2 separate regions of the Homo sapiens genome follow, and region 2 is linked to region 1. Evidence: promoter capture Hi-C in human tissues and cell types (Jung and others, 2019). All regions are on one chromosome and are shown on one strand. The core of a region is centred on a gene start or on the middle of the fragment in contact, and the rest is flanking DNA. Distances in the headings are between cores, read along the strand shown. Region 1 holds the start of CEBPB (CCAAT enhancer binding protein beta). Region 2 overlaps ADNP (activity dependent neuroprotector homeobox).

What was found. The method cuts DNA at HindIII sites, captures the fragments that hold promoters and counts their contacts. A contact is called where the count stands out against the background at its distance.
Region 2: a contact is called between a fragment that was not itself captured here and the fragment with the promoter of CEBPB in region 1, in 1 of the 25 tissues and cell types used here (dorsolateral prefrontal cortex).

The regions. Positions count from the first base shown.
Region 1 is chr20:50,188,972-50,193,011 of GRCh38, forward strand. It overlaps CEBPB (CCAAT enhancer binding protein beta), which reads left to right and starts at 1,859. Exons shown (of 1, transcript NM_005194.4): 1 at 1,859-3,697. The coding sequence starts at 2,063. The coding sequence ends at 3,100. It overlaps CEBPB-AS1 (CEBPB antisense RNA 1), which reads right to left and starts at 3,098. Exons shown (of 7, transcript NR_125739.1): 1 at 2,693-3,098; 2 at 2,297-2,451; 3 at 1,027-1,314; 4 at 485-590. RefSeq lists silencers at 1,392-1,801, 1,761-2,055, 1,882-2,091, 2,232-2,671, 3,092-3,201. The HindIII fragment of the contact is 25,644 bases long and covers 1-4,040 here.
Region 2 is chr20:50,920,731-50,924,770 of GRCh38, forward strand. All of the region lies in intron 2 of ADNP (activity dependent neuroprotector homeobox), which reads right to left. Among named protein-coding and RNA genes, the nearest start is that of ADNP-AS1, 8.2 kb to the right of the region's middle. The HindIII fragment of the contact is 7,393 bases long and covers 1-4,040 here.

The sequences.
Region 1 (4,040 bases), core at 609-3,108:
AGCAGGTGGGACAGGGAGGGCCTCTCAGAAGCCGTGGCCTCTAGCTCAGCCCTGAGTGTCCCATTTTGCAGTGAGGAAGGGCTGGCCGGGTGGCCCTAGGGAAGCTGCCGCACCCCTCTGGGCCTTGATCCCTCCCCAACCCAGAGGCTGCTGGGAAGACCCAGAAAGCCAGCAGGCTGGGCCAGTGTTTTATCCCCTCCCTCCCTGCCTCCTACCCACCAAGGGTGCCCAGAGATGTCATTTCTCCAGCTCTTGGGGGCGGAGGTCACCCCAGCTCAGCAGATAACACCAAAGGTTGAGCAATGCCCGCCTGCCCGCTGGGGCCAGGGCTGGGGTCAGTGGGCTGGGGATCAGCCCCGGGCAGGCTGGGAGCTCCTGCCTAGGTGGCCTGGGCTAGGAGTGGCAGAGAGGTGGGCCCAGGGAGCTGCCCCAATGGCCTAGGAATGGGTCCGGGAGGGCAAAGGGCCCTCTAACCTGAGCCTACCCAGCAGAGGCGGGCAAGTGGTCAGAAGGCCTTGGGCCTGTGTTCAAGTCCAGGCGGGCCGTTGTCGCTTTCCCGTCTGTGAAATGGCAGCAGCAAAAGCATCTTCCTGGTGGGGTGAAAAAAGTTGAACCTCGGGGTGCAGGCCCACCGTAAGCACAGGGCAGGGACTTGGTAAAAACTTATCTTTCTCTTTCCTTCTCTTTCCTGCATACCACCCCCTCCCGTGAGGCCTCGCTTAAGTCCCTCCCTAGCAACTTCAGAAACAGAAGTTTTTGGCCTCTGGGACTGGCAATAGGTCTTAGGGCTCAGATGAGGGCATTTCATTTGGGATGAATGGGGGACATGCGGCCATGTGACCTTGGTATGCCACGCCATGCTCTCTCTGGGCCTCCACTGGCACAATCCGTGGGGGTCCCGTTCTCTCTGATGTGCAGCCCACAACGTAAGCCTTAGGTTTGGGAGTCTGGTGGGAACAATGCCACCACCACTGACAGTAGCGACACCCTTCATGGATTGCAGCTGGGAGAAGTGAAGTGACTCACCCAAGGTCACACAGTGTGGCAGGGCCGAGCACCCCCCGCCCCTGCCCCATCCCAGGGCCCAGGTCGGGTGGCGCAGCGCGGGGCAAGAGAAGACCCGGGCGTGTCCAAGCCTCGAGCAGGCGGCAGGTGTGGTGGGCGGGGCTAGGGGCGGGGCTCCGTGGACCAGGGTCCAGCCCCAAGCGGGGCGCGATCCTGCCCGGTCGCGCCGACCCCCGGGGTCCTCATATTGTCTGTGGCTTAAGAGGGGAGTCGTCACAGGCGTCAAGTCTTCTTTCTAAAGCCGGGGACCTGGGGAGGAGGTGGGAGTTTACGGGAGGAAGGGCCACGGAGATGGGTCGCTTCTCCTGGAGCTAGAGCTGCGGGCTGGGGTCTCCAGGGTTCGGCCCGGGGAGCCGACCCTGGTCGGCCGTCGGGGCTCTGCTCGGCCCTCCTGAAACCTCCGCCTCCTCCAGCAGGGGGCGGGCCGGGGCCGCGTCTCGGGGGGAAGGCGATCAGGTCGCCCCCTCCTCCGATTCCCCCGCCTTCCAGGACAGCCTCCAGCCCAGAGGGGCGGTCCGGGGGCGGGGTCGCACCGCCCCCTCTCGCTCCCAATCCCGGGGCGGCCGGGCGGGGGTGGGCAGGGGGCGTGAGGCCGCCCCTGCGTCCCGGGGGCCCCCCGAAAACGCGCTCCGGGTGCCCGGTCCCTCCGCTGCGCCCTGCCGCCGTCCTCCCGGGGGTCTCGGGCGGCCGCGGCCGTGTCCTTCGCGTCCCGGCGGCGCGGCGGGAGGGGCCGGCGTGACGCAGCGGTTGCTACGGGCCGCCCTTATAAATAACCGGGCTCAGGAGAAACTTTAGCGAGTCAGAGCCGCGCACGGGACTGGGAAGGGGACCCACCCGAGGGTCCAGCCACCAGCCCCCTCACTAATAGCGGCCACCCCGGCAGCGGCGGCAGCAGCAGCAGCGACGCAGCGGCGACAGCTCAGAGCAGGGAGGCCGCGCCACCTGCGGGCCGGCCGGAGCGGGCAGCCCCAGGCCCCCTCCCCGGGCACCCGCGTTCATGCAACGCCTGGTGGCCTGGGACCCAGCATGTCTCCCCCTGCCGCCGCCGCCGCCTGCCTTTAAATCCATGGAAGTGGCCAACTTCTACTACGAGGCGGACTGCTTGGCTGCTGCGTACGGCGGCAAGGCGGCCCCCGCGGCGCCCCCCGCGGCCAGACCCGGGCCGCGCCCCCCCGCCGGCGAGCTGGGCAGCATCGGCGACCACGAGCGCGCCATCGACTTCAGCCCGTACCTGGAGCCGCTGGGCGCGCCGCAGGCCCCGGCGCCCGCCACGGCCACGGACACCTTCGAGGCGGCTCCGCCCGCGCCCGCCCCCGCGCCCGCCTCCTCCGGGCAGCACCACGACTTCCTCTCCGACCTCTTCTCCGACGACTACGGGGGCAAGAACTGCAAGAAGCCGGCCGAGTACGGCTACGTGAGCCTGGGGCGCCTGGGGGCCGCCAAGGGCGCGCTGCACCCCGGCTGCTTCGCGCCCCTGCACCCACCGCCCCCGCCGCCGCCGCCGCCCGCCGAGCTCAAGGCGGAGCCGGGCTTCGAGCCCGCGGACTGCAAGCGGAAGGAGGAGGCCGGGGCGCCGGGCGGCGGCGCAGGCATGGCGGCGGGCTTCCCGTACGCGCTGCGCGCTTACCTCGGCTACCAGGCGGTGCCGAGCGGCAGCAGCGGGAGCCTCTCCACGTCCTCCTCGTCCAGCCCGCCCGGCACGCCGAGCCCCGCTGACGCCAAGGCGCCCCCGACCGCCTGCTACGCGGGGGCCGCGCCGGCGCCCTCGCAGGTCAAGAGCAAGGCCAAGAAGACCGTGGACAAGCACAGCGACGAGTACAAGATCCGGCGCGAGCGCAACAACATCGCCGTGCGCAAGAGCCGCGACAAGGCCAAGATGCGCAACCTGGAGACGCAGCACAAGGTCCTGGAGCTCACGGCCGAGAACGAGCGGCTGCAGAAGAAGGTGGAGCAGCTGTCGCGCGAGCTCAGCACCCTGCGGAACTTGTTCAAGCAGCTGCCCGAGCCCCTGCTCGCCTCCTCCGGCCACTGCTAGCGCGGCCCCCGCGCGCGTCCCCCTGCCGGCCGGGGCTGAGACTCCGGGGAGCGCCCGCGCCCGCGCCCTCGCCCCCGCCCCCGGCGGCGCCGGCAAAACTTTGGCACTGGGGCACTTGGCAGCGCGGGGAGCCCGTCGGTAATTTTAATATTTTATTATATATATATATCTATATTTTTGTCCAAACCAACCGCACATGCAGATGGGGCTCCCGCCCGTGGTGTTATTTAAAGAAGAAACGTCTATGTGTACAGATGAATGATAAACTCTCTGCTTCTCCCTCTGCCCCTCTCCAGGCGCCGGCGGGCGGGCCGGTTTCGAAGTTGATGCAATCGGTTTAAACATGGCTGAACGCGTGTGTACACGGGACTGACGCAACCCACGTGTAACTGTCAGCCGGGCCCTGAGTAATCGCTTAAAGATGTTCCTACGGGCTTGTTGCTGTTGATGTTTTGTTTTGTTTTGTTTTTTGGTCTTTTTTTGTATTATAAAAAATAATCTATTTCTATGAGAAAAGAGGCGTCTGTATATTTTGGGAATCTTTTCCGTTTCAAGCATTAAGAACACTTTTAATAAACTTTTTTTTGAGAATGGTTACAAAGCCTTTTGGGGGCAGTAATTGGCTTTTGTTTTTTATTTTTTTACTTTATTTTGGATTTGTAGGATTTTGTTTTTGCGTTTCTGGTGTGTAGGGGGTTGTGTGTGGGGGGCTGCTGTTATTTTTGGAGGTTTTGGTGGTTGGGTGGGGGTGTTGCAGCTGGTTTTTCTGCCTCCTCTGCTACTCCCCCTCCCACACACACAGGGTCTGCTTGAGATGGGGTTCCAGCCCCGGGGGAAAGGGGAGAAGAGTAATGGGTCAGGCATTCAGGCTGACTCAGAGCCCCTAGGCGCCGGGACGGGTGGCTGGGAACCCTGCTTGAGAAGAGATTCCGGAGCCTCT
Region 2 (4,040 bases), core at 1,030-3,529, 730 kb after region 1:
AAAACGAGGGGAAAAGAAAAGGTTCACAGGTGAAGCTTATAGCCTAAGTCAAAATTTGTGCTAATAATACTATTTTCCTGGACAAAAACTTACCTATCAGCCATATGTAAAAAATTTGTACCTTATAACTTCAAACCTCCTTAACAAGAGGTAGGGTGACATAGCACAGTAAAGCTTTTCTTTGCTAGAAAATAAAGATGCAGTGGTCCACCCTACAGTTAGACAGATCTGTATTTAAATCCTTGCTCTGCCACTTACAAGCTTTGTGATCCTACACATGTTATTTAACCTCTAGAGGTCTGTTTTCTTATGGCATAAGCAGAAGGACACTATCTCATTGTTTTAATGGCAGAAGGATTAAATGAGATGATGCAAGTTAATGCTTAAGTCAGTTACCATTATCACCTTAAACCAGATGAGATACTAAAATAATCACTTTCAAAATTCTGAGTTCACACCAGGGCATAACCTCTCCAAAAAGCTCAAACTATTATGACTGAGAATCAGATGTGGTTGCCATAACAACATCTGTTCCTGTACACATTACAATGCATCATGCACAGTAGTGTTTTTATACAATATTTTACATCTGTGTGAGCCATTCATACTCAGGTTTGCATATTCTTAACAAGCTCAGTGACACTTAAAATATTTAGGCAACTGAACATCTGCAACTATCTTAAATAAACCCAGGTGACTTACAGTTATGTAGAAACATAAAGGTGTCATCTAGATTTTGCGTATCTTAAGTTTTAAAAAATATGTGGAGTCACTGGTCTTTTAGGAAGATTTTCAGACTACAAGACTGGTGCCCACAACTGGAAAACTGCTACTGTGTTGCTGCTTATCCTGATACTTTCCGTATTCAGATTTCAGGCAAGAATTCTAGCAGTGACCACCAGAATTTCCAGTACACCAGTAGAACCAGTTGTTTTCAGGCTGAACTCCTCTAAGAGTTTAAGATATGTATACAAACAGAGGGAAGATGATGCCTGAGGGACAAGGTGAAAGCTGGGCAGCCAGAGGTCTGGCCCCCCGACCCTTCATCAATTTAAGAGTTCACCTAAAATTGTATTTGAAAGCGGGGGAAGATGCCTCGGTACTTAAACAAGAAAAACAGACTGAGGATACTTTATAATATACCAATTTAGATTTAGGGAGAGTGTGAGGTGAGGAGCACTTCCCAGTTTACTTCACTCTAAACAGGTATTGCAGCAAGGCAGGGACACAGCATAAAGAGTGATTCTAGCACTCCACTGCCTACATAAGAACTCCACAGGCATACAGCCACTTGCTGTCGCTGTAAGTGGACAATCTGGCTTAAGATCAATGTGAAAAAGGGAAATAATTCACAAGTAGCCCTTAAGGGGTGCTTTAGGGGAAAACTCTCAAACTTTGTTTTTCCTCTGCCCTCACACCACACAGAAGTCGTGAAGTTGTCTTCTGTGACCAAACGTGTAGGGTTTTTTCCCAAGCAGCGGACACCAGCTGAGTATCCTCTAATTTGGTTCTGACACTGTCTACCTGGATACAGTGTCATATTCCACAAGATGGGGGCTCAGTCCCCAAAACTGCTCTCTCCTTCTTCAGACTCCAACTGTAAGTCTGGGCCTCCAGAACTTCTGACTGACACTTCAAGCTGGGGTTCCCAAGACCCCCTCCTTGAGTTCTATTAATTTGCTGGAGCATCTCACAAAACTTGGGGAAACACTTATGTTTACCGGTTTATTATAAAAAGTACAGATAAAGAAATGCGTAAGGGCACTGGGCTTCCATACCCTCTCTGGGGGCGCCACCCTCCAGGTGTGTTCAACTATCTGGAAGCTCTCTGAACCCAGTCCTCCTGCGTTTTTTTTTTTTTTTTTTAAAGACAGAATCTCACTCTGTCCCCCAGGCTGGAGTGCAGTGGTGCAATCTCGCCTCACTGTAACCTCTGCCTCCCGGGTTTGAGCAATTCTCCAGCCTCAGCCTCCTGAGTAGCTGGGATTATAGGCCCCCACCACTAAACCCAGCTAATTTTTTTTGTATTTTTAGTAGAGATGGGGTTTCACCACGATGGCCAGGCTGGTCTCAAACTCCTAAACTTGTGATTTGCTCGCCCCCAGCCTCCCAAAATGCTGGGATTACAGGCGTGAGCCACCGCGCCTGGCCCTCCTGGGTTTTTATAAAAGCTTCATATAGGAAACCTTACTTCCCTTCCCCGGGGTATAGGGCCAACACCCTCTCTCTAGAGAGGATCTCAAGACCTACAATCAGAAAGCTGGGTAAAGATCAGAATCTTGCCTTGGGACACGTGTAAGGAGAGCAGGAGAAGATCAGAGATTATTTTCTGAGACCTAACGTACCCTATATTATAACAAAACACGGTAATGGGGTTATGGGTGTTATGAGCCAGGAACCGTGGTGGATGAAAACCAGTATGTATCACAACACCACAAGAGGACACGCAGATATGTCCATTTATAAATTATTTCAGAAGCATGCCAAGTCTTTGTATCTAAATGACATAAAACGTTATTTTGATCCCCTAATAATACATTTTTATGCTCTACCGAAACTACTCAGAAATAATTTCCCACAATAGGAAATATATTTCTTTCACTATTCTTGAGTAACAGAATATTTAAACTATGTTCTCAAGTTTTTCGAAGCCATTTCCCAGGATCAAGGCTTCACCGAAGGTAGCTTTTCAAAAGCGTTCTTGTACCAGGTTTTGCCACTTGATGGCTCAAGTTTTCACACTTTCCTCAGAGAAGTTTTATTTGCATTTTTTTTGGTTGCTGTTTTTTATTTTTATTTTTTTTTGAGACTGAGTCTCACTCTGTCACCCAGGCTAGAGTGCAGTGGTGCCATCTTGGCTCACTGCAACCTCCGCCTCCCAGGTTCAAGTGATTCTCCTGCCTCAGCCTCCCAAGTAGCTGAGACTACATGTGAGTGCCACCACACCAGGATAACTTTTGTATTTTTAGTAGAGATGGGGTTTCACCATGTTGGCCAGGCTGGTCTTGAACTCCTGACCTCAGGTGACCCGCCAGCCTTGGCTTCCCAAAGTGCTGGGATTACAGATGTAAGCCACCGCACCCATCCTCTTGTTGCTGTTTTTAAGTGTAACTGATCTTGAAGCAGGATTCTGAGCACTTCTTGCATTTGGATACTCCCAGTCTCAGCTCACTTCTTTCACAAGAGCAAGGATTCTGTCAACCTAAATTTATAATTCGAATTGAAAATTTTAATAAATTCCACCATATTTCCACTAGACAGGAGTTTCTCAAAAGAGACCACTCAAAAGGTTCTCAGGTCATGAGCTTCCACCAGAAGAGCAGAGCTTTACAGATTGTCAACTGAAGCACAGGTTTCCACAAGCTCTTAAATGGAGCATGAAGGATTCAGAAAAAGAAAGGGTAAAAGCCAGCAATTATCTAAGAAAAAAGTAACTGCTCAGGACAGACTGACTGTCTTAAACTAAAAAACTGGGAAAAGAAAAGGGAACATAAACAACGTTTCTTTTTAGATTCTTATACAGTTAACTTCCCAGCAGAAATATGCTACTCCAATTAACTGCCACCTGCACAATTTACACCCATACTCTCCCTGCTGGGGGTGTGGCTAGCTTCTTTACATGTAGACGCCATTGGAATCCTTGGGTTTAAGCTCACATGGAAGCATAAAACCTCACTGTGAAATGGGAAGCATTCATGTGAGCCCCCATTAGCCAAACAGCTTACAAGAGCACCATAAAGGCCTGTGTTGCAAGCACAGGCCTGGGAACCAGCCCAGACATACTCTGTGGCTCATTTCATCATTGTATGTGGTAGTGCCTTGATTTCCCTACTTGTGAAACAAGGATAGTCCTGAGAAAATTGGGAATAGTTTATAAAGTGCTTGGAAAATAAAACAGACAAGCCACCAATACTATAATACCATAAAGGCCAGCAAGGGGGCCTTTACACTTAAGCAGCACATCCTTATTAAAGTCATCACAGTCACATGAGAAGTGACATATAAACACAACCCACAGCTAAGTGACTCAATTACAAATC